Linked DNA regions of Homo sapiens: all the other regions are linked to region 3. Evidence: promoter capture Hi-C in 16 types of primary human blood cells and fetal thymus (Javierre and others, 2016). All regions are on one chromosome and are shown on one strand. The core of a region is centred on a gene start or on the middle of the fragment in contact, and the rest is flanking DNA. Distances in the headings are between cores, read along the strand shown. Region 1 has its middle 4.2 kb from the start of NPRL3. Region 2 overlaps LUC7L (LUC7 like). Region 3 holds the start of MRPL28 (mitochondrial ribosomal protein L28).

Region 1 (3,386 bases), core at 366-2,865, 230 kb before region 3:
GCGAGACTCCATCTCAAAAACAAAAAAAAGATATGGAAGTGTACACTTGAAGTGGATAAGCTTTATGGTATGCAAATTGGTATGGTATGGTAAATTATATCTCAATGAAGTTGTTTTTTAAAAAATCACCCCACCTACCCTATCCCAGGCTTCCCCAGGAGGTAACTAAAGGTAATGAGCTTCTTTGGCTGCTTCCAGAACTTTCCCAAGCACATCAAATGCATCAGAACCTAACCACTTGACTGAGGGATGAGCATTTTCACTGTTGCAAGTAACCCTCTTGCACCAACACTGACACTAATGTGTATTTTGCAGAACAAATTTGTGGATTGGCCTCACCAGGGTGAAGGGTACGTGCATTTGAAATGGCTCAACAGTACCAACAGGTGCGTTTTCTTGCACAGGGCTGCATAACATTTTTTTTTTTTTTTTGAGACAGAGTCTCGCTCTATCACCCAGGCTGGAGGGCAGTGGCACAATCTCAGTTCACTGCAAGCTCCACCTACCAGGTTCACATCATTCTCCTGCCTCAGCCTCCCAAGTAGCTGGGACTACAGGTGCCCGCCACCACACCAGGCTAATTTTTTTTTTTTTTTTGAGATGGAGTCTTGCTCTGTCGCCCAGGCTGGAGTGCAGTGGCACGATCTCAGCTCACTGCAAGCTCCACCTCCCAGGTTCACACCATTCTCCTGCCTCAGCCTCCCCAGTAGCTGAGACTACAGGCGCCCGCCACCACGTCCGGCTAATTTTTTTGTATTTTTAGTAGAGACGGGGTTTCACCGCGTTAGCCAGGATGGTCTCGATCTCCTGACCTCTTGATCCACCCGCCTCGGCCTCTCAAAGTGCTGGGATTACAGGCGTGAGCCACCGTGCCCGGCCTGCATAACATTTTTTTTTTTCCTGAAATTCCCAGAAAGGAAAATGGTGTCTTGTTCTATGTTGCATTTCTTTGATTGAGAGGGAGAGCTGCATCACTTAATTATTTGCAGAGAATTGCTTTTCTTGTTTTCTTTACAGGTGGTCTGTTCTTGGATGGTCTGGCTGTGTTCTTTCTGAGGAATACATAACCTCTGCTACACATTTTGCAAGGCTTTATCCCCGTTGTCCATGTTTTGATTTTATGTATAATCAAAAGGTTTGTGAGTTCTCCCGCACTTCCCAGGAGTGCCTCTGGGATGGAAATGAGACTGCAGGAGCAGGGCTTGAGGCTGGAGGGGTGAGATGGGACAGATGGGGGTGGGGGAACCCAGGGCAGTGGCCGGTGGTGGTAATGGAGGCCTCCTCACAGGGACCCTCACAGCGACCATGCGAATGGAGCAGGACTGTGACTCAGGTCTCGCTCTTCTGACCTAATCGTGCTGCTGCCCCAATGGGCAGAACCTTGGGGCTCCAGACTGGACATCTCTGGGCTCAAAGGATCCCACTGTTCCCCCGGTTACCCTCTCAGGGTTGGCCTCCTGCCAGTAACCCTGGCACTCATTGTTCATTCTTCTGACTATCGTCAGTCATAATGAGAGCTCGAACTGGTGAAAGTGCAGGGAGCTCACCATGACCCCAGCCCACAGAGGTCCTGGGTGCGTCCCTGCCCTCGAAGCAGCACTCTGGATCCCAGCGCCACCCTCATGTCCATGTTTGCACCTCATTGGCTGTGACAGAAATGAGACATCATTGTCACACGCTGGCCTGAGGGTCAGTGGGCCTTGCTTTGGACCTCAGTTTCCCCACCAGTAACAGGGTTCAGAGCAGATGGTCCCTGAGTGAGTCCCAGCTCTAAGTTCTCCCAGGGTCTCCTGGACAATGAAGCACCAGGGCCAACCTCCATTTGCTACAGGGGACATCCTCAGGCTCTTCTCTGCTAAGACCCCACACCTCCAAGTCTCCTCATTTTACCTTTAAATAGCTGTTTCATGACCTGCTTTTTTGACGGTAAGTAGATTTTTGGAAACTGAAACCCCTGACCCTTCCTCCCAGCCTGGGCCTGCCCTTGGCAGGATAGGAGGCCTTATCGGTCCTGCCACTTGGTCTGGGCCTCAAAGGGCCACCGCCATCTGCAGGAGGGCCGGGTGGGGTTCACAGACGCTATCTGGGACTTGCCTGGACACCTCCACCTTCTCAGCTGAGTGTTGCTGCCCCACCAGGGAGAACCACTCACACACAGTAGTAATAGAAATAATTTAAAATTCATGCTGCAAGTTCCTGAGCGCCCTCCCAACACTGAGGTGGGGGCTAGTCTAATCCCCATCCTAGAGGTGAAAACAGTGAAACTAGGACTCACAAGGCAAATTAGCCTGTTCAGGGTCACCGAGGGTCCACTCTCATGGGAGAGTTTGCAGATGCCCAATCCGGCATTCTGCTGAGTGTCCAGTGGCTTGTAAGTGGCCAGACACCCTTTGAGCTCAGCCTCAGCTGCTCAGGCACAGAACGTGCCTGGAGCTTGGAATTCAGGCCAGAAACCACCAGTGGACACCAGCATTCCACACTCACTGCACAGGCTGGGGCTCAAACCAAGGCCCAGGGACAGGAAGGGACAAGCCCCAGCCCCAGCCGGACTCCCAGCCCACACAAACCATCAGGGCTTGTTTCCTGCTCCATGGAAGCCTCAGACATGTTTCATAACCTCCTGGAGCCTCCGTTTCCTTATCTTTCCAATGTAATGATGCCCATGTGCAGTGGCTCACGCCTGTAATCCCAAGCACTTTAGGAGGCCGAGGTGGGTGGATCACTGGAGCTCAGGAGTTTGAGGCCAGCCTGGGCAACATGGCAAAACGCCATCTCTACTAAAAACACAAATATTACCCAGGCATAGTGGCACATGCCTATAGTCCCAGCTACTCAGGAGGCTGAGGTGGGAGGATCACCTGAGCTTGGGAAGTTGAGCCTGCAGTGAGCCAAGATTGTCACACTGCACTCTAGCCTGGAGGACAGAGTAAGAAGACCCTGTAACAAAACAAAACATAACAAAACAAACAAACAAAAAACCCAACTAATGACAATAAAATAAACCCTCCCTCACAGGGTGGTTGTGAGGATAAAGCACCCAGAATGAAGAGTGTTGCTGCCATGTGCAGAACTTAGAAAGTGCTCAACAGATGCCAGCCAAACAGACATGGACTCCCCTCAACACAGTCAACCCAAGGTTGACTGTCACCAAACGCAAAAGACCACACTGTAAAGCTTTTAGAAATGTGGTCTAGTGGCCGGGCACTGTGGCTCATGCCTGTAATCTCAGCACTTTGGAAGGCTGAGGCGGGCGGATCACAGGGTCAGGAGTTCGAGACCAGCCTGACCACCTGACCAACGTGGTAAAACCCCGTCTCTACTAAAGATTCAAAAAATTAGCCGGGTGTAGTGCTACGTGCCTGTAATCCCAGCTGCTCGGGAGGCTG
Region 2 (3,419 bases), core at 218-2,717, 170 kb before region 3:
AGGCTGAACAGACCTCGCAGACACGCAGCTTTTGCTGCTGAAAACTGGATGCAGGCATGGAATTTCTGTATTCTTCCTGAAGAAGGAAAATGGAGAAATAAAAGTGAGGTATATAGAACTGCCACCACAAATTCAATCTCCAAAATGAAAATATTTGATAAGATGACAGAGGTGACTTTTAAACAAATATTAAAAAAACACAAACAAAACTTCAGATATTTATAACCAACTCAATTTTCACTGTTTATTTAAGAAACGCGGCCAGGCACGGTCCCAGCACTTTGTGAGGCCAGGTGGGCGGACCATGTGGTCAAGAGATCAAGACCAGGCCAGGCGCGGTGGCTCACGCCTGTAATCCCAGCACTTTGGGAGGCTGAGGCTGGCGGATCACCTGAGGTCCGGAGTTCAAGATCAGCCTGACCAACATGGAGAAACCCCATCTCTATTAAAAATACAAAAGTAGCCGGGTGTGGTGGCGCATGCCTGTAATCCCAGCTATTCTGGAGGCTGAGGCAGGAGAATGGCTTGAACTCGGGAGGCGGAGGTTGCTGTTGAGCTGAGATCGCACAGGCAACAAGAGCAAAACCCTGTCTCAAAAAAAAAAAAAAAAAAAAAAAGAGAGATCGAGACCATCCTGGCCAACTTTGTGAAACCCCGTCTCTACTAAAAATACAAAAATCAGCTGGGTGTGGTGGCACATGCCTGTAGTCCCAGCTACTCAGGAGGCTGAGGCAGGAGAATCACTTGAACCTGGGAAGCGGAGGTTGCAGTGAGCCAAAACCGTGCCACTGCATTCCAGCCTGGCAACAGAGCGAGACTCCATCTTAAAAAAAAAAGGTACTAACAGGCTGGGCTCAGTGGCTCACGCCTGTAATCCCAGCATTCCGAGGCCAAGGCAGACAGATCACTTGAGGCCAGGAGTTCAAGACGAGCCTGGCAACATAGCAAAACCCTGTCTCTACTAAAAATACAAAAATTGGCCGGGCGCGGTGGCTCACGCCTGTAATCCCAGCACTTTGGGAGGCTGAGGCAGGCGAATCATGGGGTCAGGAGATCACGACCATCCTGGCTAACACGGTGAAACCCCGTCTCTACTAAAAAAACAGAAAAAATTAGCTGGGCGTGGTGGCGGGCGCCTGTAGTCCCAGCTACTCAGGAGGCTGAGGCAGGAGAATGGCGTGAACCCGGCAGGCGGAGCTTGTAGTGAGCCAAGATCATGCCACTGGGCGAAAGAGCGAGACTCCGTCTCAAAAGAAAAAAAAAAAAAAAAAGCCAGATGGTGGCAGGCATCTGTAATTCCAGCTACTGGAGAGGCTGAGGCACAAATTGTTTAAGCCCAGGAGGTGGAGGTTGCAGTGAGCTGAGATCACACCACTGCATTCCAACCTGGAGGACAGAGGAAAACTCCAAAAAGGAAAAAAAAAAAATTGTATTCCAGGCCTGGTGTAGTGACTCACACCTATAATCTCAGCACTTTAGGAGAGTGAAGCAAGAAGATCACTTGGCCCCAGGAGATTGAGATCACCCTGAGCAACACAGCAAGACTCAGTCTCTAAAAATAAGAAAATAATTAGCCCGCTGTGGTGGCACGTGCCTATAGTCCCACCTACTCAAGAGACTGATTCGAGAGGACTGCTTGAGCCCAGGAGGTTGAAGGGGCAGTGACCTGTGACTGCGCCACTGTACTTCAGCCTGGGTGACCCTGGCTGACAGCAGGACCCTCTAATATTAAAAAAAATAGGCTGGGCACAGTGGCTAACACCTGCAATCCCAGCACTTTGGGAGGCCAAGGCAGGTGGATCACAAGGTCAGGAGTCCGAGAAGGTGAAACCCCGTCTCTATTAAAAATACAAAAAAATTAGCTGGGCACGGTGGCTGGCACCTGTAATCCCAGCTACTCGGGAGGCTGAGTCTGAGAATTACTTGAACCCGGGAGTCAGAGGATGCAGTGAGCCGAGATCGCACCACAGCAATCCAGCCTGGGCGACAGAGCGAGACTCTGTCTGAGAAAAAAAAAAAAAAAAAAGTAGACAAGGAACTAGCAAGAACTTGAATTTCCATTATAGTATGCTACATAACTAAAAAAAAAAAAAAAAAAAAAAAACTTAAGCAAAAACAATATTGTGGTACACAAATATTCATAACATTACTCTGTCCCCTTCTATAGTTTTGAAACCTTAAATGCCACCTTCTAACATCTTTCAAAATAAACTCTGATTATGTTGAGTAAAAAAAGTCAGTCCCAAAAGGTTACCTACTGTATGATTCCATTTACATAACTTTTTTTTTTTTTTTGAGACGGAGTCTCGCTCTGTCGCCCAGCCTGGAATGCAGTGGCACGATCTCAGCTCACTACAAGCTCTGCCTCCCGGGTCCACACCATTCACCTGCCTCAGCCTCCTGAGTAGCTGGGACTACAAGCGCACGCCGCCACGCCCGGCCAATTTTTTGTATTTTTAGTAGAGACGGAGTATCACCATGTTAGCCAGGATGGTCTCGATCTCCTGACCTCGTGATCCACCCGCCTCAGCCTCCCAAAGTGATGGGATTACAGGCGTGAGCCACCGCACCAGGCTTTTTTTTTTTTTTTTTTTTTTTTGAGAGAGAGTCTTGCTCTGTCACCCATATTGGAGTGCAATGGCACGATCTCTGTTCGCTGCAACCTCCGCCTTCTGGGTTCAAGCGATTCTCCTACTTCAGCCTCCCAAGTAGCTGGGATTACAGGTGCCCGCCACCACACCTGGCTAATTTTTATACTTTTAGTAGAAATGGGGTTTCACCAAGTTGGCCAGGCTGGTCTCGAACTCCTGACCTCAGGTGATGCACCTACCTTGGCCTCCCAAAGTGCTGGGATTACAGGCATGAGCAACCGTGCCCGGCCATATTTTTAATTTCTTTGTAAAGATGGGGTATCCCTATGTTGCCCAGGCTGGTCTCAAACTCCTGGACTCAAGCAATCCTCCTGCCTCGACCTTCCAAAGTGTTGAGATTACAGGCATGAGCCACCATACCCACCCTCCATAAGCTTTTACGCTGGGCAGAAGGCAGCAAAAGGGGAGTCAGCATATCACATGGCAAAAGAAGGAGTGAGACAGAGAGAAGGACCTAGGCTCCTTTAAACAATCAGCTCTGAGGTGAACTCACTATCCCAGGGAGGGCACCAAGCCATTGATGAGTGAACCACCCCCATGACCCAAACACCTCCCACTAGACCCCACCTCCAACATTGGAGGTCACATTTCAACATGAGATTTGGACGTGCCACACATCCAAACCGTATCAAGTGTTATTTTTTATCTTTTATACTGTATTTTTACTGTACCTTTTCTATGTTTACGTACACAAATATTTAGGGGCCCACTGTGTTGCAACTGCCTATAGTATTCAGCACAGTAACATGCTGTACAGGTGTGGAGCCT
Region 3 (2,716 bases), core at 217-2,716:
AGGATGTAAAAGTCGAGCCCATAAGCCTCATCGATGAGGTCCAGGGTCCGCATGGTCACAGTCACTGTGAACTTCTTGTCCAGGATCTCACTGTAGAACTCTCGCTCAAACAGCTGTGGCTTCCACACTTTCTTCAGCCTCTTGGAGAGCTGAGGGTGCAACAGAGCCTCCATGAGTACTGCTGCTTTCTCTTACATACCAAGGGGGGCCCAGGCAACTGCCCTCACCTCCCCCCCGGAGGCTCCATCACAGAACCACTGCTGTCAGACTGGGGACCTAGAGCTAACTGGGCCGGCCCCCAGCCCAGTGCCGCCCCAGCCCGACCCGGGTCCTGACTGTGTACCCAGAAGTCAGCTGCTCCCCAACAAGCTGGGCGTTCCCGCCCTGGTCACATGGTTGCTGCATGTGTTTCAGAAACATGTGCGACCCCACAGTTTACAGGTTGTCACATTCCAACCTGGAGGTGACACAAGTCTCCCCACAGGCTTCAGCAGTCCCGCCAGGAAGTCCACCACAAGCAGCCTCGAAGCTCTGCTCGCCTCCCCCACCTGCTCTGCTCGCCTCTCCCACCTGCTCTGCTCATCACACAGGCCTCCTCCCCATCCTAACTTTACCCCGACTCCCCACGGCCTCTGGTTGCTCCCCCGGCCTGAGTCACCCCACCTCACCCCTACTTTATCAGTCCTGTTTGCCAGAACTGCGGTTCTTCACTCAGCGTGCTCCTTTGCCGGAGATGTGTCGCCTCCAGGCTGTAATCCCCAGGGCCCACCCAGGTCTCTCCAGGTACCCCGGGCGTCCGGCACAGAGCCGGCACAGCCAAGCCCTGAGAGGAGCCCCTGAAGGCCGCCTGCGGACCCACCTTGTCGTTGTTGGCATATATTTGGCCCAGGATCCAGCCCTCGCCGCCCCACAACCCCCGCTGGGATTCGGGGGGAAAGTAGATGGGAATGGGCACGTCCTCCACACGCTCCCGCTGCCCGTTCTTGGGGTTGATCTTGAACTTGGCCCCATGAGGCCTATAGTGCACGGGAGTGGGCGTCCGCTCCTCCTCCAGGGAGCGCAGGTAGTGGCCGGGCAGGCGGGAACAGATGCCCTCCCGCAGCTGCAGCCGCTTCCAGAGCCACACGGGATACTTGTGTAGAGGCATCGCGAGCCTGGCGGGAGGTGGGGGCTCGCAGTCAGTCGCAGCCTGGCCAGGCCCCCGGCACTCACCCCCTACCCCGGCCCCCGACTCTCACCCGCTACCCCGGCCCCCGGCTCTCACCCGCTACCCCGGCCCCCGGCTCTCACCCGCTACCCCGGCCCCCGGCTCTCACCCGCTACCCCCTACCCCGGCCCCCGGTTCTCACTCCGGCCCCTGTCCCGCACCCACCTGCCCCTCCCCTTCTGCCCCGGCGCCCCCCCACACCCCACCTGCCCGCGCCCACCTTTCAGGGTTCAGAGCCCACCGGAACCGGAAGCCGATCTGCCGCGCCTGGCCCTCCTCCCACCGCTGACTGGCTGTAAAAGCCATCCGTCTACCCCCTCGTCCCGCCCCGCTTCCGTCTTTAGGGACCGTAAAAAACACCCCACATACAGCAGCAGCAGCTCAAGGCACCGTTAGCTACGTGCGGCCCCGGCGTTTCCGCGAAGGGCGGCACGGGCGGGGCGGTGCTTGTTCTCCCGGGCCCCACTTACCCTACCCGGGAAGGAGCACAGAAAAAATGTAAAAACTCGTTTAGTTTGAAAAATCAATGTAGAATATTAAATTCACCAAACACAGATAGATCAGATCTACATAAAAATATGTCTTAATATCTTAGAATTTTCCTTTACTCCAAAAAACCCCATATATATATGTTTCTCCTTTATAAGCTTAGAGATTGCTTTGGTGGTCAAGTGCAGGGCGGCTGGGGGAGGTAAGACCTTCAGGAAGGCCATATCCCGGACAAGACCCAGAAGGGAAGCCCCCAGAGCCAAGGGTAGGAGGGCCCCACCCGGGTCTCAGCCACTCACTTCTCCAGGGCGGATCCGAGACACTCACAGGCCTCAGGGAGGGGCCAGGTGCTGCTCCTGGTCATTGCTTCCCCCACAAGGTTTGCATGAGGAGCAGAGACAGTCCAGTCTCCTGAACACCCACAGGGCACAGAGCCCAGTGCAGGGGGCAGACACCACCGCAGCTCCTGGGACCAAGAGGAAGCTCCCAGAGGGGGGCCCAGGAACGCTGGGGTGGGTGGACAGGGCTGGGTAGGGGTTCCTTCTGGGCCAAACCCCCAGAGCAGCAGAGCACCCCAGTCCAAGGAAGCTCTTCTCAGGGACCCAAGGCTCCAGAGCCAGGAAAAAGGGAGGGGCGGGGCGGGAGCCTGCATCCCCAGTGCCCATCAGCTCTGGGGGAAACCTCCGTCTCCCGTCCCTATGGTGACCACAGCAGCAGAGGGGGATCCTCCATGCCCCAGGCAGGCTGGCATCAGGGCCACACAGGGGCCAGGAGCAGGGGTCTCGGAGTCCACAGCTCCCGGCCCCAGTGGTGGGCTCAGGGCTCCTGGGCGCCATGGGTCTCACCACAGCCTCGCCAGGGAACAGGACCATAGGGAGTCCTTCTCCCCATCTCTAGCCACCCACAGGCCAGCAGAGCACACAGCCCCACCCTCGCACAGGCACCTGTGGTCTCCAAGTAACCAAGCCCAGGCCCCAGGGGCCACTGCAGACAGCAGCTGGGATCTGCAGAGGGATCTCA

What was found. The method cuts DNA at HindIII sites, captures the fragments that hold promoters and counts their contacts. A CHiCAGO score of 5 or more calls a contact.
Region 1: a fragment that was not itself captured here is called in contact with the fragment with the promoter of MRPL28 in region 3 in 7 of 17 cell types (naive CD8 T cells, total B cells, total CD8 T cells and 4 more); the score reaches 7.2 in naive CD8 T cells.
Region 2: a contact is called between a fragment that was not itself captured here and the fragment with the promoter of MRPL28 in region 3, in 1 of 17 cell types (M2 macrophages). The highest score is 5.0, in M2 macrophages.

The regions. Positions count from the first base shown.
Region 1 is chr16:141,164-144,549 of GRCh38, forward strand. No RefSeq gene overlaps it. Among named protein-coding and RNA genes, the nearest start is that of NPRL3, 4.2 kb to the left of the region's middle. RefSeq lists a cis regulatory region at 1,792-2,310. The HindIII fragment of the contact is 3,114 bases long and covers 59-3,172 here.
Region 2 is chr16:199,163-202,581 of GRCh38, forward strand. LUC7L (LUC7 like) reads right to left here. Exons shown (of 10, transcript NM_201412.3): 6 at 1-76. Among named protein-coding and RNA genes, the nearest start is that of HBQ1, 20 kb to the left of the region's middle. The HindIII fragment of the contact is 3,111 bases long and covers 1-3,023 here.
Region 3 is chr16:369,072-371,787 of GRCh38, forward strand. MRPL28 (mitochondrial ribosomal protein L28) reads right to left here and starts at 1,467. Exons shown (of 6, transcript NM_006428.5): 1 at 1,428-1,467; 2 at 860-1,154; 3 at 1-149. The coding sequence starts at 1,147. PGAP6 (post-GPI attachment to proteins 6) reads right to left here. Exons shown (of 13, transcript NM_021259.3): 13 at 1,717-2,716. The HindIII fragment of the contact is 7,915 bases long and covers 1-1,852 here.